7 separate regions of the Homo sapiens genome follow, and regions 1, 2, 4, 5, 6 and 7 are each linked to region 3. The links are contacts of gene promoters, found by promoter capture Hi-C in blood cells and fetal thymus (Javierre and others, 2016). All regions are on one chromosome and are shown on one strand. The core of a region is centred on a gene start or on the middle of the fragment in contact, and the rest is flanking DNA. Distances in the headings are between cores, read along the strand shown. Region 1 has its middle 9.8 kb from the start of CAST. Region 2 overlaps CAST (calpastatin). Region 3 holds the start of GLRX (glutaredoxin). Region 4 overlaps CAST (calpastatin). Region 5 overlaps LOC101929710 (a long non-coding RNA gene). Region 6 overlaps LOC101929710 (a long non-coding RNA gene). Region 7 overlaps CAST (calpastatin).

Region 1 (3,609 bases), core at 38-2,537, 830 kb before region 3:
AAGGTAAGAAAAAGAATTGAAAAAAGAAAATGGGCCGGGTGCGGTGGCTCACATCTGTAATCCCAGCACTTTGGGAGGCTGAGGCAGACAAATCAAAAGGTCAGGAGTTTGAGACCAGCTTGGCCAATATGGTGAAATCCTGTCTCTACTAAAAATACAAAAAAATTTAGCCAGGCATGGTGGTGCACACCTGTAATCCCAGCTACTTGGGAGGCTGAGGCAGGATAATTCCTTGAATCCGGGAGGCGCAGGTTGCAGTGAGCTGAGATCGCACCACTGCACTCCAGCTGGGCAACAGAGTGAGACTCCGTCTCAAAAAAAAAAAAAAAGAAAAGAAAAGAAAACGATAAGGAGAAAGGAGAGATACAAGGGAAGAGAAAAGAGAGAGGGGAAGAAGAAGAAAAAGGAAAAAAGGATAGTTAAGCAACAAGAATGAAAAAGGGGAAATTAAGTAGTATTTTTAAGGGGAAACAACAAATATTAGACTAAAACTACCACTAGAAAAATACAGAATAAGACTCATAGTTATTTATTTATTTATTTTGCTTTTCAGTCTTTCAAATACTTAAAGATAATTATTTTGGCCCCCAAATTCTTTTTTCTTTTCTTTCTAAAGAAGCCAAAATGAAATATTCCTTCGTCTTCTAAATATTGGGTTAAGATACAAGATAAAGATCTGAGAGAAAAGAAGAAAAAGAAAAGAGCTTTTAAATAATTTTTATTTCATCTATGATTTACCTTTTGCTTACTCTAATCTAGGACTTTATATGCATTTTATAAACCTTCACAGCAATGTTACGAGGTTTTATTTGTACCCTTATTTTACAGAGAAGGAGATGGGTGTTTTAAGAAGGTAAGACTTCATCCACAGCTGGGAGGTGGCAGAGCCAGATTCCAAAGCCAGGTCTACTAACTACACTTCCTCTCCAAATTGTTGCCCTTTCTGGAGCAACAACTCAATTGTTCTCTTTTAATCATCTGTTTTTCTAGGTCTCCCAGAACTCTCTAGATGAGACAGCATTTATTTATTATGAATTTATTATGCAGTTGACTTTGAGGAAAAAAATGTGATTAAAAACACATGTCTGGCATAACTTCAATACCAGGTGGGGTCTAGCCCTGCCCCAAGGCAATGAATCTGGACTGGTTTGCCTACTCAGACACAGAGACTCCCTGTGAGGTCTGATCCCACCCTGAGGATATAGGATAACTGTGGCACAGAGTAGATGTGTCCCTGGAGCCTGTGAGAAAATATGAAGGCAATCACTAAACTATGGAATAACTGCCATTAATTTGGGAGATAATGGCTGTGGGAAACTCAGGCTCAACAGGGACCCTGATGGGTCTCAAGGATTAGGAGACATCCTTCAAGCACTGTGCTCAAGCCAAACCAGTTCCTCACAGCAGGTGGGTAAGAGGGTGTGGTCTCAGTTGGTGCCTAGCTACCTCTCCCAAACCTGTTGTCTTGCAGAAAGGGATTATGGTTCCCGTGCAGTCTGTGCCCCTTCTGAAGTATGCAGTAGTCAGCCTCTGACTGTTGGAGTCCCTGTGACCACCAATTTCTGTCATGAGCTCTGTTTTTCCTGGGATACATCAGATATCACATCTTATATTTTGCATTGTGTCATTTTAATATAGGCAAGATGATCCCATGTGCAAATAACACATCCAAGGGAAATCTTAAAATGAACATATGGCACATATCTTACTCCCTGAGTGGGTTAGGCCAAATGCTGTGTGTCAGGAGGCTCTGTGACACAGAGCATTTAAGTGGAGGCTTCACAGAGGAGTCACCTAAACATAGGGTTTCCTCTCTGTAGGTGTGCTGTGAGCTGATTGGATGAGTGGCTAAATGTATAATTAGGTGCTGTGGGTTACTCAGCTAGTTTTTCTGTTTATGTTCCTCCTCCAGAGTTTTAATTGAGCACTATTTAGTACTTAGGCTAAAATGGTATTACACCAATTATCTTTGTTTAAAAAAATCCCCATGACCCATCAATTCTACATTTTTCCCTAACGTGTGTTATTTTTATACCATGAGTATTCTAATTATAGACTCCATGTAGGAAATCATTTGTAATTATCAAACAAAGCAAAGCCAATTATTACAACCTAGGTTGGAAGATACCTAAGGGTTGGTCTGGACCTCGTTTGCTATGAACCATCTCCTTAGAACCATCCCTGGGAGGTCCTCTGACGCTGCCCTAGTGGCCACTGCAGGAAGATCTGCTCTGGTGAAAAGCAGGGGTTTTGGATTCAATTGCATATGGATTTGAATCCCAGTTGTGGTCCTTAGCAGTAAGTGCTTAGGAAGTTTACCGAAGCTCTCTGAGACTCAGTATCTTTGTAACATGAGCCTACTAATATATACCTTGCAGGGCTGTTACTTTTAAAAACATGTCACAGGGAGATTCTGATTTAACACACAGATTAAATATGTGTGTCTTTATTCCTTCTCTCCCCTGAAACTTCACTGAGAGTAAATGAAATTAAAACAAATAGGAAAGCTCTAAACCTACAGGATAAATGGCACAGAACAGGAGACAATTACAAACATGATATATCAACACATTTTTGTAAAAGGTGTAATAGAAACCAAATTTTACAGAATGGAGAAAGCTACAGCCTGAGAGTCTGCTGGGGAGATACGGACAGAAGTGAGCAAGGTCTAATGCCAGTTTGAAAGCTCAGGGTTTGGAGGTGGGGCATGGGCTGAAAAGAGAGAGATGGGTGAAAATCTTTACAGATTGCAGTTAGAACCTCAGTCTCTTTCTTCCATTTCACACATCAAGGCAACTATCCCTTCCCAACCTCAGGTGAGATGCGAAGCTTACAAAGGAAAGGACAGTAGAGACAGGATAAGAAAATTAGATATCAACTCAAGACATACAACATCTATCCAGTAGGATTTCTGAAAAGACAGCAGAGAAAGCAGAGAAGATACAACCAAGTAATGATGTCTTAAAAAACCAGCATTGACTGATATTAGTACACACACATACACATACTTCCCTAGGCACATCACTGGTGCTCTGTCCCACGTTAGAATGTCTCAGAGGCTGAAGGTTCATCCTCTGCAGTGTGGTGGAGAAACCGAAGTTCTTGTCCCACTACAAGTTGCTGTTCTGCTTTCTAACTAGACAGTGCTTTGTTGCTGAGGAGCCCAGGGCACAGTAGATTTTTGTCTGATTGAGATAATTGAGACGGGGAGGCTGGCATCGGCAGCATCATTTCCCTAAAACCGCATTTATTTCTAGTACTGTTTGGGTCTGTTGTTTTATTAGTTCAATTTTTTTTCTCCAGAATGTTCTTGGAAAGAAAATATCTACCCACACTATTATCCAACTTCAATTCTGAGAGAGCACAGCAGAAAGAAGAATCATAATACATCAGCCAATGAATGCTTCAGTGTCAAGATTGGAAAGCAAATTTCCAAACACAATTCTAAATATCTATTTTGCACTAGTCTGTTGAAAAAATTCTTTGCTAAACCTTCTCTATCTCTATACATCTGGAAAGCAGTAAAGACTGTTTTGAGTAATCTTTTCTTCCTTTCTCCCACCTATGCTCCCACGAATGCCCACACGCTACACACACACACACACACAC
Region 2 (3,340 bases), core at 357-2,856, 860 kb before region 3:
CAATCCAAGACATCTATAACATGTGAAGTGTCTCAGTCACACTGACAAAGATTCTCTCCTTGACTAAATTCTAATCAGGCTCCTCTGAGCTCTTTTTCAATTAGGCCTCATTGTTGGACTTCCACGTTCATCTCTGCACTACCCACTCATAGCAAGAATACTGACAGGCTACTTTAGTCAGAATCCTCCATTCTTGCTATCCGATCAAGTCCCCTCATCCTCCACCATCCGCCAGGTGAGATCTGATCACCCGCTGGCCTTAAGCAAGAATCCTATAGGTCACTTTTCCCAGAATCCGCCTTATCCCTGATGTTTCCTTTTAATTTTCCATCCAACGATCCCTGGCCCTGCTCCTAGCTAAAAATCCCCACTTTTCTTCATTATATTTGGAGCTAAATACTACCAAGGCCTTGAATAACTATAATAGAATGCAATATTTGAGAATGATGTACATGGAATTAGATTGTTAAAATTAAGGTTGGCTATGGAGTCAACTCTTGGAAAAACCAGCCACCCCTATAATTTCTCCCCTCTTACTGCAAAATTCCCTTGCAGTGGTCCCTACACCTATAGCAATGGTCTGGAATGAAGTCTGCCTTACTATTGTTTAACAAGTAACATGAATATTTTTTTCCTTACAGAACTTATCTCTTTTTGTGTAAGTAAACACTGACTTCATTTTTCATTGCTTTATCTGCTGTTCTTTACATAAATCTACATACATTGGAAGAAGAATCTACCATGCAGAATCTCCACATACTCAGCACCCTCTCAATCATAATCACAGTACAATGGAAACCTTCTATTACTCCACAAAAACAGCTTGGAAGAGAACTGATACTATCCCAGTCTCCAATCAGGACCTTGCCTCAGCCCCCATCCCTCTGGAAATATCAGCATTTCAGCCCTACTGACCCTCCACTTCTTCCTGCACCCCCCACACTGATGACAGGGAGCACCCAGCTTCCTCTACCTCTTTGCTTGCTGCTTCTTTGACTTGAGTTATCCTTCCCACTTTCTACATGTAGGCATTTATCAACACTTGATTTTAGTTTCTCTCTCTTCTCTCTCTACACTCTTTTCTTCAATAATTTTAACCAGGAATTTTGGTAGTGAGGGTTAGAGGCAGAGATGGAATTGGAGCTTGAGCAGTTTCAAAGGAATTGCTTTAAAACAGTTTATGATGAAGATTGAGCTAATATGTAGTCTAAAGAGGAGTCATGAAATAAAGAGTGAAAAAAAAAAGGAATAATCAAAAGATCTAAAGGACAAGGTCCTGGGAGAAGTGGGAAGAAATAGTATCAGTAACTGATCCCTCCAACCAAAGCCTCCCACAAGGTCCACTGACTCTGAAACTGCAGCTCTCTTAGTGTGCTCTACTGTATTCCCACAATATGGCAGAGTGAGTTGGTCAGGGGGGAAAAGGAGAGGTCATTTGAAAAAGAAAAAAAAATGAAAGAAAAAAGAAATAAAGAAATCAATGTTTATGTGTGCTACGCACCATGCTATGCACTCCACAAGAATTATTTCAGTGTTACTCAAAATGTGCTCAAAAGACCACTGGCATAAGAGAAGAATCACCTGGAGTGATTGGCAAAAATACTGATTCCTTGGGCCCACCTTAGATCTAAATCAGTCTCTGGAGATGGAGCCTAGGAGTCTGAATTTCTCATACCATCCCCAGGTGATTCTTAGGCACAAAAAGAGTTGATAATCACTGCATTATCTCATGCCATATCCTGAAAAATGAGAAACAGAGAGTTTTAAATTTGTTTTGGTACTAATACAATGCTCTACACATTTACTAAGCATTCTGTAATAATGATACTTGAAAATAAAAGACTATGATGTAAATTTGCCATGAGATTTTGCTCTCACAAATGAACTATTTTTATAATGTACAAGCCATTATGTATTTTGTTATGTGGAAAAATAATATTGACATTACGATAAGAATCATACATATTCAGTCCTTAGATAAGACAGATATCTTGCTATGGGTATGATTTCAGGTTATTGTCCCTTTTGAACCAGTCATCCCATTATTTTTGAGAAGCTAAGAAAGTCTGAAGAATAAAAAAAGTTAACTTTAAACATGTTATTTCTGGAATAATATTTAATCCATCTGTCCATGAGGTTTCTAGTGCTTATGATCTGTGCTGAAGTGAACTGAACATCCATTCAATTCCGTCAATATTTTGTTAGTATTTTACTCTGATTCCACAAGCAATAAAATATAATCTCTTCAGAGACAATTTGGTGGGACCTAAGATCTTAGGTAATTCAGCTCATAAATCTAAAATAAGATAATGAAGGGTATATTATTATTGTATGATATAATGTTGATATATTTATATATATATATTTATATATTCTCTCATAGAGGCAAAGTGTTCAGTTGTTTTTTTAATACCATTCCCTATCCAATGATACAACATTTTGTATATCACAGATTCTTAATTTAAAGGCACATTATTTTCATATTCTTTTTAAAAAGTACATCCTTAGCTTCTGATAAAACAGCTCATTGAATAGTGATGCATACGGTCTGGCATGGTGGCTCATGTCTGTAATCCCAGCACTTTGGGAGTCCAAGGTGGGCAGATCACCTGAGGTCAGGAGTTCGAGACTAGCCTGGGCAACATGGCGAAACCCTGTCTCTACTAAAAATATTTTTTAAAAAAGTTATTTGGGCGTGGTGGCATACACCTGTAGTCCCAGCTACTTGGGAGGCTAAGGCAGGAGAATCGCTTGAACCCAGGAGGCAGAGTTTGCAGTGAGCCAAGATTGCACCACTGCACTCCAGCCTGGGCAACAAAGTGAGACTCTATCTCAAAAAAAAAAAAAAAGATAGTGATGCAGAGGTCTTTAGTTCTAGCTATTGGCGTATGTTTCTGCATGTTGCATGTAGTTGGTTTTACAACAAAAGTGCTACTAAAGTTAATAAACTATCAAACTTCCCTCATTTTTTAATGGGAAGGTGCTGCAATATATAATCAACCAAAGAATTTGAGCCCTGCCCCATCCCATAGGTAGACATCAATACGAGACTCACCTTTATTGCCAAACAAGTTCTCTTTACTGAGCTAATAATAATAAAGTAACACCAATAATAATAATAACAATAACAGGAGGTAAGATTTATAGAGCACCTCATATGTCCCAGGCACTGTTCTAGACACTACATATGGATGGTCTGATTGTTCTTCACATTGACTCTTATGTAAGAACTATTAGTATCCTCATTTTACAGATAAGGAATGTGCCCTTAGTGAGGCAAAGTAACTTGCCTAAAGACACAGAGCTAGGAATTAGCAGAGCTGGGAATTAAATCCAGGCA
Region 3 (3,482 bases), core at 421-2,920:
CAGGCTGAGGCACCAGGAAGGGAGGAGCCAACAACAGACCGGAGAAGAGAAAGGCTCTGAGTGAGTAGCAGGTGCAAGTCGTGTGGATAAACCTCAGGCTGAGGGAACTTAAGGCAACAGCCTGAGGGCCCTGAAACAGACCCTGGACCTCCTGGCAGGGGCCTCTGGAAGGAGCCTGGCCACAGGGTTCTGAGGTAAAAGAATGAAAAAAGAGAGGAGGCTCAGACTCTGTGGCAGAGCCTACTTTGGAGGGAAGTGGGAAGTGGGAAGTCCGGAGCCCTGACCACGTGAGGGGCCTCCCAGCCCTGCCACATCCTTTTCTCTGGACAGAGCTGTCACTTAGCTCCCCCTCCGTGACTCAGAATCTGGCTTTCTCATTTTGCCATTTTAATTCTAGTAACGATGAGAGTCACAGTAAAAAGCTGCTTCTGGGAGTGGATTTTCTTCCCTTCCCTTGATCGCAGTATGCTTGGGATTCCTCTTACGTGGCAGTCGTGGTGTCCAGCTCTGGCCTTGGCCCCGCCTCTTTGAAGATACTCTGGTTTCACCATAAAACTTCCTGGGGAAAGGATGATTCACGTTTAAAGGACATAGTTTTTCCTTGATTTGTTTATTTAAGCTACCATACACTAGAGGGGGCCGGAACTAGACCCAGGAGTAGAGGACTTTGCTTTGCGGGATAAGGAGAATGGGCACCCTGGGGAAGAGCGAAAGATTTCCTACTGTTACAACCCGTGTCTTATAACACTTGAAGTGAATGTGGTGTCTGAGTTACAACACTACTTCCCCTCACAAACAGTTAAAAGCAGAGGGTCACAAACATAGGCTCAACCAGAAAAAAAGATTCTCATTTCATCTGTAGTTTTGTATCAAGGATTGTGTTGGAATTTGCCTCCATATTAAACTGCTGTTCAAGGGTTACCAACTCAAATGGTTATGGGGTGAAGCCGGTGTCTCAGGCATGGGCCTGTCGTTGGGACCTGTGGCAAACCAAAGCCACTACTTGCCCTATACAAAGGGGGCAACAGCTGTCAGCCCCAGCAGCTTCCACTAAAAGGTGCAAGCTCTGTATTGCCCGACCTGACTTTTCAGAGAGAAGTTTTAAGTCCGAATTGTTTTGTGAGACCTCCAGATTTTTAAATACTGAGAATGAATTCCATTAAAAAGATCACAACAACAAACACCCACCATACAGTCCAAGCAAAATGCTGTGAGAGCAACCTTCATGAGGAGTGCAAAGTCACAGTTTCAATTTCACTTCTTCTAAAGAGATTTCCAAGTGTTCTGTTTCTTAAGTGATTCTGTTTGCATTTTAAAATACAACTGTATCTCCTAGAGGGAAAACAAGAATTTGCTCTAAGAAGTCACTGCCTCCTCAGCCCCTTTGTGAGTAAGCACTTTATGCTTCCCCAGAGGTGACTAAACTCTGATCATTGCCAATGGGCAGGCACTCCCCAAATGTCCAAGGACAACAAAGATACCCAGAGTGTCTTTCATAGCTACCAATGATTAAATAGCAAGTATTGCATTCCTGGGCATTGCTAACTAGTGAAGTATACCAGATGGAAATGTCTTCGAAGCTGTCCCTTTAAAACTCGAGCAAGCTACCAGGCAAACTCCGCCTCCAGGGAGGTTCCTTATTAAATAGGAGCCAACTGGCTGGGTCGGGGCTCAATACCCCAAGCAATACCTGCAACTGAGGATTCTTCCCGGGGAGACCGCAGCCCATCGGCATGGCTCAAGAGTTTGTGAACTGCAAAATCCAGCCTGGGAAGGTGGTTGTGTTCATCAAGCCCACCTGCCCGTACTGCAGGAGGGCCCAAGAGATCCTCAGTCAATTGCCCATCAAACAAGGGCTTCTGGAATTTGTCGATATCACAGCCACCAACCACACTAACGAGATTCAAGATTATTTGCAACAGCTCACGGGAGCAAGAACGGTGAGTTTCATTTTAAACGGCTAGGGAAAGGCTCCCGGATTGCCTTTTCTTGTCAGAGCTGTGCCTTTCTTTAGGATAAGGCTGCGGCTCCGTACTTCAAGGCGTCCAGAGGGCTGTGCGGGGCGGGGGGTGTGGGGGAGGGCGCCTTAGAGAGGATCTCGGTCACTTGAATGAGCGGCGGCACTGCAGCCAAAGGTCTTCACGGGGCAGAAGAGGGAGTACAGCTGATGTCTGCTGTGCGGCAGGGTAAGTGGGACCAGCAGCTTGCCGGTGAGTCCCTGGGGAATTATCTAGAGTCTTTGTTTTAAGCACTGCCAGGAAATGACAGTTTTCAGTTGGCAGGGCTGGAGGTGGAAGCTGGGGTGGAGGGCCGGGTGTGATGTGTTTGTTATTTAACATGAGATTCATGTTCTTCATTCTTTTCTCTAGGCTTTCTTTTTCTAATTTGCTCATTCTTCCTTATCTAATTCCTCCCACTGGAAAAATCTAATGTACCGTTATCTGCCCCTTGTTCTAAATTAATTATGGATGTTTCCAGGCCCCACATTGTAGGGAATCATAGCCTGGAGTTCTGGCCTGGCTCTTATAATGGCTGGCTGTGTGATCCTGGGCAAGTCACCACCCCAGTAGTCCTCAAAGATCCCAGCTGCAAGACCAGATTAGGTGACCTCAGAGTCCCATTTGCTACGAATAGACTGTGGGACCCTCTAAAAATTGCTCTCCTCCATCCGAAAGACTTCCCTCTCTTCAGCATCCTTGGCTTTGCGTCCTGGGCTTCAGGAGGGATGCCAGCCACATCACCTGTATCAGTTCTGCTGTGAGGTGGGATGAGAAATGTCCCACCAGCTCAGCTAAGTTCTCTTTTACGATGCACGAATTCTACAGCACAGTGTTAGGCCAAGCACATATCCTATTTCAGTTTTAGTTTGACTTACAAGGTTGTCTCTGGGTTCTGAGTATAAAGCATTGGAGGTTGTTTCTCTCCCCTTCTCTCTAATAAGAAGTCAGCATTTTGGTGCAGAAAGGGGGCTTAGTGTGTTATCCTACTGCTGTGTGCTGAGGTCCTGGAGTATACACAATGACGAGAGAAGCTCTTGCTGCCTAGTGGGACCACCAGCTGCATAGGATGCCCAGGCCCTGAGAGGTGTAAAGGGCAGTGCAAACACTACTACGGGCCCCACTGTGGCTGCCACCCTGAGGACCTTTTAGCCATTGGTTCCCAAACTTTGCTGCACATTAGGATCACCTAGAGAGCTTTTAAAACAATCCTTATGCCCAAATTATGCCCCTCAATAACTAAATCACAATGTCAGAGGTGGGAGCCAAGCATTAGTTTTGTTTGTTCGTTTGTTTTGAGACAGTTTCATTCTTGTCACCCAGGCTGGAGTGCAATGGTGCAATCTTGGCTCACTGCAACCTCTGCCTCCTGGGTTCTCCTCAACCTCCCAAGTAGCTGGGATTACAGGCGCCCACCACCATGCCCAGCTAATTTTTGTATTTTTAGTAGAGACGGGGTTTCACCATGTTGGCCAGGCTGGTGTC
Region 4 (3,380 bases), core at 23-2,522, 850 kb before region 3:
ACACACAGATACATAGACAGCCAAGGGAACATGTCACACAAAACAAGATAAAAATCAAAGAAACTAGGCCGGGCACAGTGGCTCACGCCTGTAATCCCAACACTTTGGGAGGCCGAGGTGGGCAGATCAGGAGATCAGGAGTTCGAGACCAGCCTGGCCAATATGGTAAAACCCTGTCTCTACTAAAAATACAAAAATTAGCTGGGCATGGTGGTGCACACCTGTAGTCCCAGCTACTCCGGAGGCTGAGGCAGGAGAATTACTTGAACCCAGGAGGTGGAGGTTGCAGCGAGCTGAGATCGTGCCATTGCACTCCAGCCTGAGTAACGAGCAAAACTCCATCACAAAAAAAAGAAAAAAAAATCAAAGAAACTTCTTCACATATAAAAGAAGCAAGAAGACAGAAAAGCAGCCCTTGCCAGCATTAAGTCCAGCTGTGAAAAGAGTATGAAATGCTAGTGTGCTTCTGAAATGCCTTTGCTTTATTATTATTATTTTTTAAAGTATGAGGCTTCTTTTAGGAGGAAAGGAAAACATTCTAAAGTAAAATTGTGCTGATGGTTGTGACCACCCTGTGACTATACTAAAACATATTGTATCATATGTCTTGGTGGGTGATTTATTTGAAAACTTAAACATTTTCCTTCTTCAATGTGGCGACAATTTCATCGAGATAGTATTTGCATGTCCAGGGACAGCTGTGGAAAAATCATGGAGCAATAAAAGGTTATCTTGATACCCTCTGGACTCTCCGAGCTCATGGAACTCAGCTCTCTACCATCACACACACTGAGAAAGGCTTCTACCAGGGGCTCCTGAGGATCACAAAGACTTCAGGTTAGCAGTGGGTCCCATCCTTCAGTGCCTGTCACAAGCACCTGGGAAGCTTTTAGAAACATTTGTGTCAGGGCACAGGGATTTAGATTTAGTTTGAATAGAATGGGGCCTTGCCATGGATAAATTTTTCTAAAGTTCCCCAGATGATTCCAATATACAGCCAGGATTGAGAACCACTGGTTTTGGGGGAAGATTTATGGGCACCATGATAGGAAGCGGAAGTTTCCGCTCCTCAAACCATCCCACTGAGTCGGCACCCATGGGGAGGTTCCCAGGGTCAGGCAGACTGGGGTGGCTCTGGGCTCCTCCTGGGTAAACTCTGATTGGTCAGTGAAGCAGCACAGTGCCCTATGTCTACACCAGTGTTTCCTGTCAAATTCTGAGCTTTGCCCTATTAATGGAGTATCATATTTTCATATTTGCACATTAATCTCTATTTTCTCAGTAAATCAAACAAATTAGCACTTTATTGTACACTCTCTTGCTTACTGATTACTTTATAAACTTACATCTTGCCTTCCTAATCACAGGGTAAGTTATATCCTTTTTTTCCTAGATGTGTGGTAGGACCATAACAAAGAATTCTTGATTGAATGACCATGTTCCCACAAACCTATAAACATTCCCTGAGAAGTAATTTTGCTCTTTTCAGATCAGTAAACTAGACAAAAGAGAAAGAGGCCAAGAAGGTAGCTTGAAAAATTAAGAGACAATGTGCAAATTGGTATTTCCCACAAAAATGCCTTAAAATATATTTGTATATGTATTCTACTTGCTAAAGCAAAATTATTCAGCAAACAAGCAGATGGACCAAAGCTTCTGTAAAGCTGGTTTTGCTTCAGAACAGTCTCCCTGGGTGCAGATCCTAGAACTGTCTGCCTTCAGGTGGATTCCTTGTTCCACTTCTGCTGTGTTCAAATTGTAGTGGAACTTTGCTGGCTGCAATTCTCTTGATGGATGGCCTCAAGTTGGGTTTAGCCAACAGCAGGCGCTGCCAGGAGACTAGAGGTGGTGGGTGGGTGGTATTCCCTTTGCCCCACCCCCTCCTCCAGTAGCACCTCCTGCAGGATGGGTTGGCTGTGGTTCCAGCTTCTGCAAGGTGACCCTTGTCCTCCCTGTGTCCCTCTAGACTAGGGATGGTAGCAGCTTCCTGCAATTTCTAATCTCTGGGTTGCCTCACCCTCCCCTGACGGCTTCCCAGCCTTTTTTTTTTTTACCTGGGTAACCAATTCCCTATGTTACACTCCCTTTGTTTTAAATACTCAGAGTCATTTCTGTCTGTTAGTTGACTGCAATAAACTCTGATAGGGCAGAAACAGCCTAGATTTGTAAGGCTATATGACCGTGACCTTGGGCAGATAATTTAATTTTTCAGTTTCTTTTTGTAAAATAGGGCTAATGGTATCTATCCCAGGGGCTGGCAAATTTATGAAAAGAGTTGACATTAGTGAGGCACCTGGTTCATTGCCTTGTTCATTTTAAGAACACAATTAAAATTATTTCACTCCCTTCTTTTTCCCTGGCAATCTGACTGTGGTGAATTAGAAGCCAGTGAGTTAAGGTTTGAGGGTTTCATTTTCTAAGGCTGTAAACATTAGAACAGAAGAATTTAGTATTTTACTTTCCCTAAAGTACAAAGGAACCTTATCAGGTTCATCTGATTAAGTTTTTGTTTAGTACTTTGTCTATCTCATGACTGTGTATTATATATTATTCTCACATCTTCGTATAACACTCAAGGAGATAAACTACATGGGGGTTAAAGAATTCATTTTCCCAACAAACTACAGCAATTTGGTTACAAGGATGACTTATATTTGCAATTCCCATGCTTTAAAACATGTTGAAAGGGTGTGTGTGTGTGTGTGTGTGTGCACGCGTGTCTGTGCTGGTAGCTGTGACGGTTAACAGATAAAACAAGATTAGGACAATGTTGACAATTATTGACACCAATGATTGGTATATGAAGAGGTCATTATACTTATTTATTTATTTATTCATTTATTTATTGAGACGGAGTCTTGCTCTGTCGCCCGGGCTGGAGTGCAGTGGTGCAATCTCGGCTTACTGCAAGCTCCGCCTCGCGGGTTCACGCCATTCTCCTGCCTCAGCCTCCTGAGTAGCTGGAATTACAGGCGCCTGCCACCACGCCCAGCTAATTTTTTTGTATTTTTAGTAGAGATGGGGTTTCACCATCTTGGCCAGGCTGGTCTTGAACTCCTGACCTTGTGATCCATCCGCCTCAGCCTCCCAAAGTGCTGGGATTACAGGCGTGAGCCAACCGCACCCAGCCTCATTATACTCTTCTCTTATTCTGTGTACTAATGCTTAATATATATTAAGGATTAACTGCATAGCTGTAATTCTGAAATCCCTCTGTTTTCACTGAACCCCAAGTGTTCGTTTTTTCTAACATTTTAAGATTTCAGTGGACATGACAAGATGACACTGTAAAGGTACAGGCCCTTTGTGTCCAATTTTCAGAGGTGGCATCTATTGCCTGTCATAGATTAGCTCCTGGGATTCACCTGAAGTAAGGCTGG
Region 5 (3,510 bases), core at 622-3,121, 510 kb before region 3:
GGGTCAGAGCTTAATGGCATATTAGGGTGTCTATGGGTGTGTGTGTGTGGTTGTGTGATTCATTTCCACTCTCATGTCAGAAGAGACCCTTGGAATCAGAGTAAGTTTTACTTTGTTTTAGCTCAGTTTCGCTTTCAGGGTTCTATGATATCAGGGTTAAATTCATCCATTTAAATTGCAAGCCCAAATGTTTTCCAAGTGTCTTTTTTTCAAATATGTTTCATCTAACATTGTAAAGATCAAACGTAAACTCCTAGCTTCTGCAAAACAGCTCTTACCCCAGGGTCTTCCATATTAAATATTTACTGAATTAATGAAACTCTTCCCAGTTTTACTCCTAAAACATACTTTCTGGTGATTCACAGTTTTGAAGTGTGATCTTCTACTACTTGATTAACAGACATGAAATCTAAGTCCTCAGATATTAAAGGAAGAACCGGGACTAAAAGTCACATCTCCTGACTCCAAATTGAGTGTTTTGAGGTCCATCACATGCTTTACCCCAAATCTCTATTCCCAAAGTAAATTAAAAATGTGTGACTCAGAATTAGACATCTGGAAAAGCATTTTGGGGACAAAGAACAGTAATAGTAAATGTCTACAGCAAAACCTCACAAGAAACTGCAGAATGCCTTAACACTGTGGGTTTGATGTGCTCCTTCCAATGGGAACCTCTAGAGGGCAGTCCACTCTTCATAACAGACAAGTTCTGCCGGGTTTACAAGAACTCTGGGAGCGAAAAATCTAAAATGTTTGGCATACTTTCTAACAGCTTTCAATCAAACAGGGCACACAAATATCTCAGGCCCAGTCCAATTTTTGGCTGCGTTGGAGAAGAACGCGACTTAACTATGTATTTAGCTATGGGTTTTTTCTCTTTTTCCCTCTCTCCCTAAGCATGAAGGCTCTAATGTTTAATATGAAATGAACTTGAAACTTCCCTTATAATACTAACCTAATACACTGGAGTAAAACATATTTATTGGTAAATGTGCAAGTAAAGAACAGAAAGAGAACAGAAGACTTGCAGAGAACTACTGCCGGTTGAGAGTTGGAGTCAAAATAGGGGGCAGCGGGTGGTAGGAGCTAAGGTTTAAGAGATAGACAAGGGACAGCCCCAGGAAAGGAGGTTGAATTTCCTTGTGTAGATTCAGAATGACTTTAGCAAGAGAAGGACTGGGTCAGATTACTGTTTTGTATATGAATCATTCAGGTAGCTCTGGAGAGAGAATGGAGTGGGCCAGGTCTAGAAACCAGGAAGCCAATTGAGAGACTGTTATATTGGTCCAGTTAAAAGAAGGTGCATTTGAGATAGGGTAGTGGTGGTAGGAGTGGAGTTGAGAGGATGGGTTTGAGAAATGCATAGGAGGGGAAAACATCAGGATGTAATGATCAGTTGGATAAAGGGAGTGAGGAGAAGAAAAAAGTCAAGGCAGACATTTTATAACTTTTGTCACTGGGTAAAGAGAAGGTAACAGAACAAATAGAGGTTTAGGTTGGAGGGAAGTGATACATGTAGCTTTTGAGCAATTGAATCCGAAATGTCTGAAGAGTGCCCAAGAAAAGCTGCCTAGCAGGTGATGGAATTGGTGAGCCTAAAGCTTGGGGGAGAAATTGGAGATGGAGATTGAACTAGACAGTCATTACTATACAGATGGTAGCTGAAATCCTGAGTGTAGAAAAATCCACCCAAGAAGAGTATCAGTAATGAGAAGAGCGGTAGGCTAAAACAGAAAGGTAGGTAACCCCAGCATGTGGGTGGTAGATGGAGGGAGAGGAGACCATGGTTGGGAAAGAACAGAAACAAATGAGGCAAGCTGAGAGAATATAATATGACTATCATAGAGAGTGAGTGGTGCACACAAGCAACATGGCCAAATGCCCCAGAAACATACAGTGAGACAAAGATTGGAAAATGTCCACTGAATTTTCCAGCTACAATATGGGTGGCCTTACCAAAAGCAGAAGCCAGATTGCAGGGGATGCAGAGTGAATGGCACATGAAGTGGTCACACTGAGTATAGGTAACTCTTTAAAGATGTTTGGATGAAATAGAAGAAGAGATAGGACATCACTAAGAGGACATGGGGGTCAAAGGTAGACTTCTTTTTTAATGAATGGGAAGGAGATGAGTAAGCTTGTAGTCTGAAGAGGACATACCCCTGCAAGAGGAAAGGTGGATGTTTCAAGAGGGAGGATGGCTGTGGAACCTGGTCTTGGCATGTGTAACTGGGGTCGGCCTTGAACAAAAGGAGACAATGCATCTTCTGAAATTGGAGGACGATAATGCAGGGTGTGAGTGGAGCTCTGTTCCTAGGCATGGGTGAGGCAAGAAATGGAAGGCGCTCATGCTCATTTGCCTCTATAGCAGGATAATGAATTTAGATATCATTTTTGATATTGCATTTATACTGTAGCAGAGTCTCCAGTGGATGAACAAGTCAGCCCTTGTATTGTGCGCTCCTGATCTTGCCTCCAAGGGTAAGGATCACTTTTGTGCTTCTAGGTGAAAAACGAGTTTCTGGGACACTGAGGTAGCAGCTCCATCCTAGGCTTTTGTTTGAAGTGGTTATTTAATTGGGATTCTGCAAATAGTCACTACTATGCCTACTGTGTGGCTATATTCATACCTGAGGAAGTGGCATTGTAGTTGAAGGAAGTGAGTGACAGGACCGTGGGGGTGACTTTTCTGGAACAGAGAAAGGGGCCAGTGGCAGAAAGTTGTGCAGCAGGCTGAAAACCAGGCCCTTCCAATACAGTTCCCTGAAGATGGCAGAACCTCCGATGGTGTGGCTTATAGATGTGCAGGGTCCTGAGTTTCCCAGTAGTGAGAACCAGGCCACCTCACCCAAGTTGCACTAGGGGTGGAGGTGGGTGGGTGGGCTTAGGAATAGAACCTCCAGCCTTTAAATGGACCTTTCTGGCCCAGCCAATAAACAACTAAGCAGTGACTGTGATAGGCTAGAGAAAAGAGGTCTCTCCTAGAATTTTCTGCACTGAGCAATCCTCCAAGGATGCCTGACTGCCTCTGGAGAGCAGAACCTCCAATAATGACTGCTACTGACCCTTGCCACACTCTGGAGGGAGAATTTCAAACTTGAATTAACAATGAACAACAACAAAACTGTGCTATATGACATTTCTTGCACCTGAGTATTATAAAGAAACTTCAGCCCTAATACAACTCAATTTTCTGAACAAAGTAGGTAGCAAGTTTGCTAATAGTGAGGAGCATATGAAATGGGTGTTGAAGTGAGGGTCTGAGACCCATAAAAATATTTTTAAAATATAGAGTCTTGGACTTACGAACTCAAAGAATGTTGATGTTGGAAGGGACCTGCTGCTTGCTCCAGTTGAAGCTGCACTGTACTCCTTTTGCATGTATTTTTAAAATCAGAATAAATGAAGCTCAGAGAGGCTAAGGGTTGCATGTAACGCCACACAGCTTAGCAGAGCTTCAGCCTGTTCTCTCTCATTTTGCCTTCAGTTGGAACAGACACCCTTTCCAGA
Region 6 (3,738 bases), core at 306-2,805, 790 kb before region 3:
CTCAATGTGCGTCTCAGCCAAGGACAGCCCACAGAATCCTTGTCTGTTTCATTCTCCCTGTTGCCATTGGCACATTAGCAAAGCAATCTGATAGACTGGACTATGTGAACACACTCTGGGAGACAGCCCTGTGCAGCAGCACAGACAGTGCTGACTGAGTCAATGGGAGAGATGGTTATGGCAGAGTAAGGGGAGAGGAGGAAGTGAGACCTGCCTAGGGACTGCCAAATGCCATCCTGTACAGCTGCTCTTTGGCTTACGATGGGATAAACTTACTGGAAATAGAAAATATTGTAAGTCAAAAATGCACTTAATACACCAAAGCTGCTGAACATCATAGTTTAGCCTAGCTTACCTTAAATATGCTCCAACAATTACAATAGCCTGTGGTTGGGCAAATCATCTAACACAAAGCCTGTTTTATAATAAAGTGCTGAATATCTCATGTAATGTATTGAATATTGTACTGAAATTGAAAAACAGAATTGAATTGCTGTATGGGTACTCCAAGTACAGCTTCTACTGAATGCATATGATTTCTGCACCATCGTAAAGTTCAAAAATCTTAAGTTGAACTATTGAAATTTGGGGGCTGCCTATACTAGGCTAAAGCCTACTCACAGCTCACTCAAGGCAGCGCTGAGGGCCTCCCCAGTGCCCAAATTATTGCTTTTAAGTAACTAAAAGGCAAGAGAATATAATGAACTCATTAGCCTTCTTAGTGACAGGTGCCTCATTTTACCAAGCTTAGGGTGGGAGCAGTACAAGATGATGGATCCTTTTCATAATTCAACTATATATATATATTCAGTTTTTAAAAAGAAAAAAAGCACTGAGGAAGAGGGGTAATCTGGCACCCCTGGGGAGAGGCTGGGCCTAGGCTTTGGATGGAGGTGGGTCCCTGGCATTATTCTTGGATTTCCTCTGAATCTTTGGACTCTGTTTCAGGTTTATCTGCCTGAATAGCTTCCCGTTCCCCACAGTGAATGAATCATTTCCTCTTCTAATCCCCTGCCAAACATTTCAAATCATGTTTCCTTTTCTTGGTTAAGTACCTAAATTGAACTCACTGTGATGAAAAAGCAACCCATGGAAAACAGTTTTCATTCTCATTTATAAGCCTCCTGCCATAAGGTTTTTGGGAGAAGCTCGTGGGCATGTCCCGGCTGGATGCTTTTGCTGAAAATCCCTTGTCAACACTGAGGCGCTGTAGTAGGTAAGATTGCACACAGCATCAGGAGTGAAAGGCCCTGATTCTGATTCACTTCACCGCAATAACCTAACGAGTCAGGCATTTGCCAACAGCTAACACTCCATCCAGAGGGAAATGGAATCATTTGAGACAAAATGATGAGCTTCTGCTGCCATCTGGTGGAGTTCTCACCTTTAATCATGTTAATTAAAGGGTTCCTCACCAGAAAATGCTGTAGAGTTAGTGGTGGTTCTGGAAGGGGTTCCTTGGACCGGCAGCATTTGTATTACCTGGTCACTTACTGCTGATGATATATTGTTAGTTACTTTATACCTTAGATTCCTTCATTACAAAATAGACATAAAACATCTAACTCATAGGGCTGTGAGGATACCCAGCCTCACAATGCAGATAAATGAACAACAATTTAAAAAACAGTATAAGGCACCCAGTATTAAATCTAACAAAAGATGTGCAATTATTTTAAAAAGTATAAAATTTCATTGAAAGACATTTGGGAATACCTAAATATTTGCAGGCTCCACCCCAGACCTACAGGATTAAGATGTACATTGTAATAGAAGTCCCAGGTTATTTGTATAGAGAATAAAGTTTGAGGTACTTAACGTTTTCTCCAGGGAGATAGGTAGTTACTATTGTTGTTGTTGTTTTGTGCCTTTGAATACCCTTAAGTTGTTTCATTTAAAAATGCTTTAAAGACAATCATCAGAAGACAGAGTATGGATTGGAGGTTAAGAACACAGAATTTGGGGTCAGATAGAACTTGTTTTGCATCCCGTCCCCATCACTGACTACTGATAACATGGTGAGTTACTTAATCTTTCTGGACCTTAGTTTCCTTAGCTAGAAAATGAACGTGAAAATATCTAACTCATAGGGTTGTGAAGACTTAAACAGAAAATACAGATAGCACAAATAGTAGTATTACAAAATCTGAAGTACCTAGTATTAAATCTAACAAAGGATGTGCAAATATGAAAAAAGTATGAAATTTCATTGAAAGACCTTCGAGAATACTTAAATGAAAGGAGAGATGAAACCATGTTCAAGGATAAGAAGAAAACTGTCATTCATCTTCAAATCCATCTATTCTAATGCAATTCAAATTATAACCTCAACTGGATTTTTATTGCTGAACTTGACAAGCTTATTTCAAAATTTGAATGGAAGAAAACAGCTAGGAATAGAAAATTCTGAAAGAGAAGAAGATGGAGAGGGTCACTCTACCAGATATCAAGACTTATTATAAAACTATAGTAGTTCAGGCAGTGTGCTATTGGCACAGTGATGGATGACTTGCCAGTGGAACAGAATAGAGAGTTCAGAAAGAGACTCATACATATTTGGAAATTGGATACATGAAGCAGTGGCATTACAAATCAATAGAACATGCATGGGCTAACTGATAAACATTAATTGGTTACCCACAGAGAAAAATTACATGTACTGTGTATTTACACATGTATATATGTGTGTATGTATGTATATATGTGTGTATATTTATTTAGACTTCTTGTTTATATCATACACAAAGATAAATTGTTACCCCGTTGATAAGAGATCTAAACATCTAAAGCAAAACTAAAATAAGTTTGAGGAAAATGCAGAAGAATTTTTGCATAATCTCAGTGTAAGAAAGAGCATATTAACAAAATCCAGTAAACCAAAATTATAAAGTAAAAGATTTGATATATTTGATTAGATTAAAACGTATTTATTTCTTTAAACCGGTACAAGTGCAGATTTCTCTGTTTTTGTTTTATTTTCTTCAAATTTTAGATTCAGCGGGTATGTATGCAGGTTTGTTACGTGGATATATTGTGAAATGCTGAGGTTTGGGCTTCTATTGAACCCAACACCCAGAGAGTGAACATAGTACCCAGTAAGTAGTTTTTCAACTCTTGCTCTCTTTCCTCCCTCCCTGTTTTGGAGTCCTTAGTGTTATTGTTCCCATCTTATGCCCACATGCATGCAATGTTTAGCTCTCACTTATAATGAGAATATGTGGTATTTGACTTTCTGTTTCTGTGTTAATTCATTTAGGATAATGTCCTCCTGCTGCATCCATGTTGCTGCAAAGGACATGATTTCATTCCTTTTTAAGGCTGAATGGTATTCCATAGTGTCTAAGTATCTCATATTCTTCATCTAAGCCACCATTAGTGGGCACCATGACTTTGCTATTGTGAATAGTGCTGCCATGAACATACAAGTACAGGAATAGCTTTAGTAGAACTATTTCTTTTCCTTCGGATAGACACATGGTAATGGGATTCCTGGGTCAAATTGTAGTGCTATTTTTAGTTCTTCAAGGAAACTCCAAACTGCTCTCCACAGTGGCTGAACAAATTTACATTTCCATCGACAGTGTATAGGTGTTCCCTTTTCTCTGCATCCTCACCAACATCTGTTATTTTTTGACGTTTTAATAATAGCTATGTGATTGGTGTGAGATGGTGTCTCATGCGGTTTTTGACTTGCATTTCCCTGATTATTAGTGTTGTCGAGCATTTTTCCATATGCTT
Region 7 (3,417 bases), core at 141-2,640, 880 kb before region 3:
TGTCACCCAAAATGCCAAGACTATGCCTTTTGAGAAACATTAAGATGACATTTTTAAGTCAAGAGCGTCCATAGAGAAAAAATTAAATGCAATGTTCATGAAGACCTCCTGTAATTTTCTAGTAAGCAGATTGCTAATTCTATGTATCAGAAAAACTATGCGATATGTTCTTATGAGGTTAGACACACCAATGCTAAAACAGATATCCCAGATTCGTATGATCTCCAAATTGAGGGAATTATAAGGTATAATGAAAGAGGAGATACAAAGATATATATGAACATAGAAGAATATGGGTTATGGAGTTTTTATTTGAATAGGACTAATTAAGACAGTTCATATTTTGAGAAAAAGTAAATGTTTCCACCTAAGAAGTAGTGATCACTTAAAGTTAACTGTGATTATAAACAATGAATAGAAACATAAATACTCAGCTGATTTTCAGAAGTTATTCAAATGAAAAGAAAATGCTTTCTTTTTCTTTCTGGTTTCATTCTTTCAAACTGTTACTTTACGTACTAGCTTTTATGTTTTCATTGCAGTACAGATGTTATACTTAGTCAATTCTGCCAGAGAATAATCAAGGAACCAAAACTCCCCACTAATTCTATATAATCAACTACTCTCTGGCATTCGGACTCTTCTTTCAAAGCATCTGAACTGAACCACAGCCAATATTTATACTTGAATGTGCTGCTTCATAAACACTGTTTCACAGTCTACAAAGCATGCTGATTCGTAATAGACACCAGGAGTCCTTGCTGCACACACACGGGATCCCTAGTCAGCCTCATTGCTATAGGTGGCTTATTCCTTCTCCATCAGTCTACAGGTGTGGCCTTTCCTTGTTCAGCAAGATTTTGCTAAATTTCACTACTTCATTTTAATCCTATACTGCCTCCTAGAACCCAAGCAGCACACCCTCCCCAGCATATTCCCAACAACTCAATATTCCTTTTAGATACTGAAAAATCAGTGCACAAAAGTCGAATACATTCATCAGAAAGAAGCAATCTATATTAATATAAACTCTAGTGCTGATTAGGAAATAGACTTTCCCCTTTTGAACAGTAGATGCCACTCCTTGTTGAGCTTCCCTGCAATGCAGAGGTTTTTCCTCTGAAAAACATGTGAAACAGCAGGAACTTTCCAGAGCTGCTGATTAAGCATTTCTGTCATTCTGATGCATAGGTGGTTTCCTAGAAAACTAGAGAGGCCCCAAAGTCCCGATCCTTAGGGAAGCTGTCTAAACTCTCTGCCTCATTTTCTGAAGCTGTACAATGGGAATAAAGAACTTCCCCCTGCCTGTGTGTAAGTGGAGAATGCCGGGTCCCTAACCATACAGAAGAGAAAGTTAAATCTCTGTGAAAACACTTTGTATTCTTAAAAGATAGACACAAAGTAACCCTCAGTGATGTTATTCTACAACCGTCTCAGGTTGTGTAAAGGAAATGGAACCGAAACAGGTTACAACACTTGCCACGCCACACCCAGCATGTATCAGGTACGCAGAAAGGTCAGAGTGAGCTCACGCTCTAAAACGGAGGTCATCACAGGGTGGCGGCACGGCTGGGGAGGAGGAGATCTATCTCCAACCCTAGAGATAAAGGTGCCAAACCAAACTGACATAGCTGCTGCTTTCCTTCTTTTGGGCCACTTGTCTCGGGCCACTTGTCTCGGGCCACTTGTACCGGGCCACACAAATCCCTTGTTTTGTAACCCTACGCGTCCGGTCACCAGATACATTTCCCGGCGGAAGGGGCAGTAACAGTGTTACCGACAAGGAGGAGGAGTCGCCAAGAAACACAGTTAAACTCAGAACGCACGGTATCGCCAGGGTCGCGATAGTAGGAAAAGCGCACGTCCCGAGCCTGGGGAGTCCGCTGCAGGGACCAGGCCCCGGACACGCAGGGCAGGTAGCCGGGGGCACAGGCCCTAGACCCGGGAGCACGCGCGGCCTGGAGCAAAGCGGCGGAAGACAGTACTCACTCTGCGTGGACACCGGACCCCGCAGTCCTCGGCTTGGTTTTCAGGAGGTCTGCATTCCTAGCTGGGCTCGGCTCCCGCGGTTTCCGCTTGGAGCTCCAGCCCAGCTCTCTGAGTGCGACGGGGCGGGGCGGTCCCGGGAAGGCGACGCAGGATGCTCCCCGCCCCCCTGCCCGGCGGCCCCGCCCCGGGAGCCCGGGATGCGTGGGGAGGGAGGTCCCGCTCCGTGGACTCGTCATGCGCCTGGCATCTGGAGACTGGCTCACTCAATAACGCAGCCTGTGATGCGGACCACGTGCTGTGTGGGCTGCGCACCGCCGGCTGATTACAGGTTACCGCTCCCTCGGCTGTCACCCTGTGACTACCAGAATAAGGCAACGACGGTGGGTGCACTTCGCAAATATGCTCCCCCGAAGACCTCTTTTGAAACTATAAAGTGGATTAGTAATGACTACAACCAGGGATTTGCAAATGCAGTTAAAACTGTGTAATGGATTTCTTTAAAGAGTAGTTTAACAGTAAGAATTCTACCCGATTACTTTATATTATAGTATATTACAAACTTCAAAATTAGAATAGATTTGAAGCTATTGAATACAATATAAATTCATGAGTCTATACTGCTGTAAATAAATGAATGAATAAATAGAGGGGTTAAGCCACTCTTTCATATAGAAGGCCAACTAATAAATATTGAATGATAAGAGTTAGAGAAAATAATTATAAAAAATTTTAAAATAAATGAAAAGCCGTACACCAACCACATTAAAGGCTCTGAACCCTGAACTTGGGGTGTGAGTGAAGGAGGTAGTGTTGGTCACTGTTTGAGGAACACAGACCTCAGGACAGGTTGGACAGTGCTGTGTCGAGTCATGACAAATGATGGCCAGTGGCATGAAAAAGGTGAACTCATCCATACAGCTTTGTACCCCACCAGGCAGCCAAGGCAGTTAGGGCCCTCTGATGTACCTTTCAAGGTACTCCTCACAGCTACCTTATTTTTTTTGTCTTTTATTTCTGTCAAAAATCTAGTGAAATAAGAGCCCTTCCAACTTTAAGATTCTAACATTTCCAGAGCAGAAGACCCTGTCCTTATAATTTTTTTTTTTTTTTGAGGTGGGATTCTCGCTATGTGGCCCAGGCTGGAGTGCAGTCACGTGATCTCAGCTCACTGCAACCTCCACCTCCCAGGTTCAAGCAATACTCCTGCCTCAGCTTCCCGAGTAGCTGCGATTACAGGCATGCACCACCACACCTAGCTAATTTTTGTATTTTTAGTAGAGACAGGGTTTCACCATGTTGGCCAGGCTGGTCTCGAACTCCTGACCTGAAGTGATCCACCCACCTCAGCCTCCCAAAGTGCTGGGATTACAGGCATGAGCCATGCACCCGGACTTAGAATTCTTCTTGATATATAGCTTATATATCCCT

Evidence for each region. Contacts are between HindIII fragments. The CHiCAGO score rates a contact against its expected background, and 5 or more counts as called.
Region 1: a fragment that was not itself captured here is called in contact with the fragment with the promoter of GLRX in region 3 in 6 of 17 cell types (total CD8 T cells, monocytes, M2 macrophages and 3 more); the score reaches 7.3 in total CD8 T cells.
Region 2: a fragment that was not itself captured here is called in contact with the fragment with the promoter of GLRX in region 3 in 2 of 17 cell types (total CD8 T cells and naive CD8 T cells); the score reaches 5.5 in total CD8 T cells.
Region 4: a fragment that was not itself captured here is called in contact with the fragment with the promoter of GLRX in region 3 in 1 of 17 cell types (non-activated CD4 T cells); the score reaches 6.0 in non-activated CD4 T cells.
Region 5: a contact is called between a fragment that was not itself captured here and the fragment with the promoter of GLRX in region 3, in 7 of 17 cell types (fetal thymus, naive CD8 T cells, total CD4 T cells and 4 more). The highest score is 8.8, in fetal thymus.
Region 6: a contact is called between a fragment that was not itself captured here and the fragment with the promoter of GLRX in region 3, in 3 of 17 cell types (monocytes, non-activated CD4 T cells and total CD4 T cells). The highest score is 5.7, in monocytes.
Region 7: a fragment that was not itself captured here is called in contact with the fragment with the promoter of GLRX in region 3 in 4 of 17 cell types (naive CD8 T cells, non-activated CD4 T cells, erythroblasts and 1 more); the score reaches 10.1 in naive CD8 T cells.

Annotation. Positions count from the first base shown.
Region 1 is chr5:96,650,748-96,654,356 of GRCh38, reverse strand. It overlaps a transcript of CAST not described here. Among named protein-coding and RNA genes, the nearest start is that of CAST, 9.8 kb to the left of the region's middle. The HindIII fragment of the contact is 3,089 bases long and covers 1-2,831 here.
Region 2 is chr5:96,684,075-96,687,414 of GRCh38, reverse strand. The region is part of intron 2 of CAST (calpastatin); the gene reads right to left. Among named protein-coding and RNA genes, the nearest start is that of CAST, 23 kb to the right of the region's middle. The HindIII fragment of the contact is 3,675 bases long and covers 1-3,340 here.
Region 3 is chr5:95,820,914-95,824,395 of GRCh38, reverse strand. GLRX (glutaredoxin) reads left to right here and starts at 1,670. Exons shown (of 3, transcript NM_001118890.2): 1 at 1,670-1,940. The coding sequence starts at 1,734. RefSeq lists enhancers at 422-922, 1,153-1,242, 3,159-3,298. The HindIII fragment of the contact is 7,969 bases long and covers 1-3,482 here.
Region 4 is chr5:96,667,482-96,670,861 of GRCh38, reverse strand. All of the region lies in intron 1 of CAST (calpastatin), which reads right to left. Among named protein-coding and RNA genes, the nearest start is that of CAST, 6.8 kb to the right of the region's middle. The HindIII fragment of the contact is 767 bases long and covers 889-1,655 here.
Region 5 is chr5:96,333,750-96,337,259 of GRCh38, reverse strand. The region is part of intron 3 of LOC101929710 (a long non-coding RNA gene); the gene reads right to left. The region is part of intron 1 of LOC107986365 (a long non-coding RNA gene); the gene reads right to left. LOC124901034 (a long non-coding RNA gene) reads left to right here and starts at 3,494. Exons shown (of 2, transcript XR_007058881.1): 1 at 3,494-3,510. It also overlaps a transcript of CAST not described here. The HindIII fragment of the contact is 536 bases long and covers 1,604-2,139 here.
Region 6 is chr5:96,611,828-96,615,565 of GRCh38, reverse strand. All of the region lies in intron 4 of LOC101929710 (a long non-coding RNA gene), which reads right to left. It also overlaps a transcript of CAST not described here. Among named protein-coding and RNA genes, the nearest start is that of CAST, 49 kb to the left of the region's middle. The HindIII fragment of the contact is 1,613 bases long and covers 749-2,361 here.
Region 7 is chr5:96,701,488-96,704,904 of GRCh38, reverse strand. The region is part of intron 3 of CAST (calpastatin); the gene reads right to left. Among named protein-coding and RNA genes, the nearest start is that of CAST, 41 kb to the right of the region's middle. RefSeq lists an enhancer at 1,361-1,860 and a silencer at 2,100-2,229. The HindIII fragment of the contact is 5,929 bases long and covers 1-3,417 here.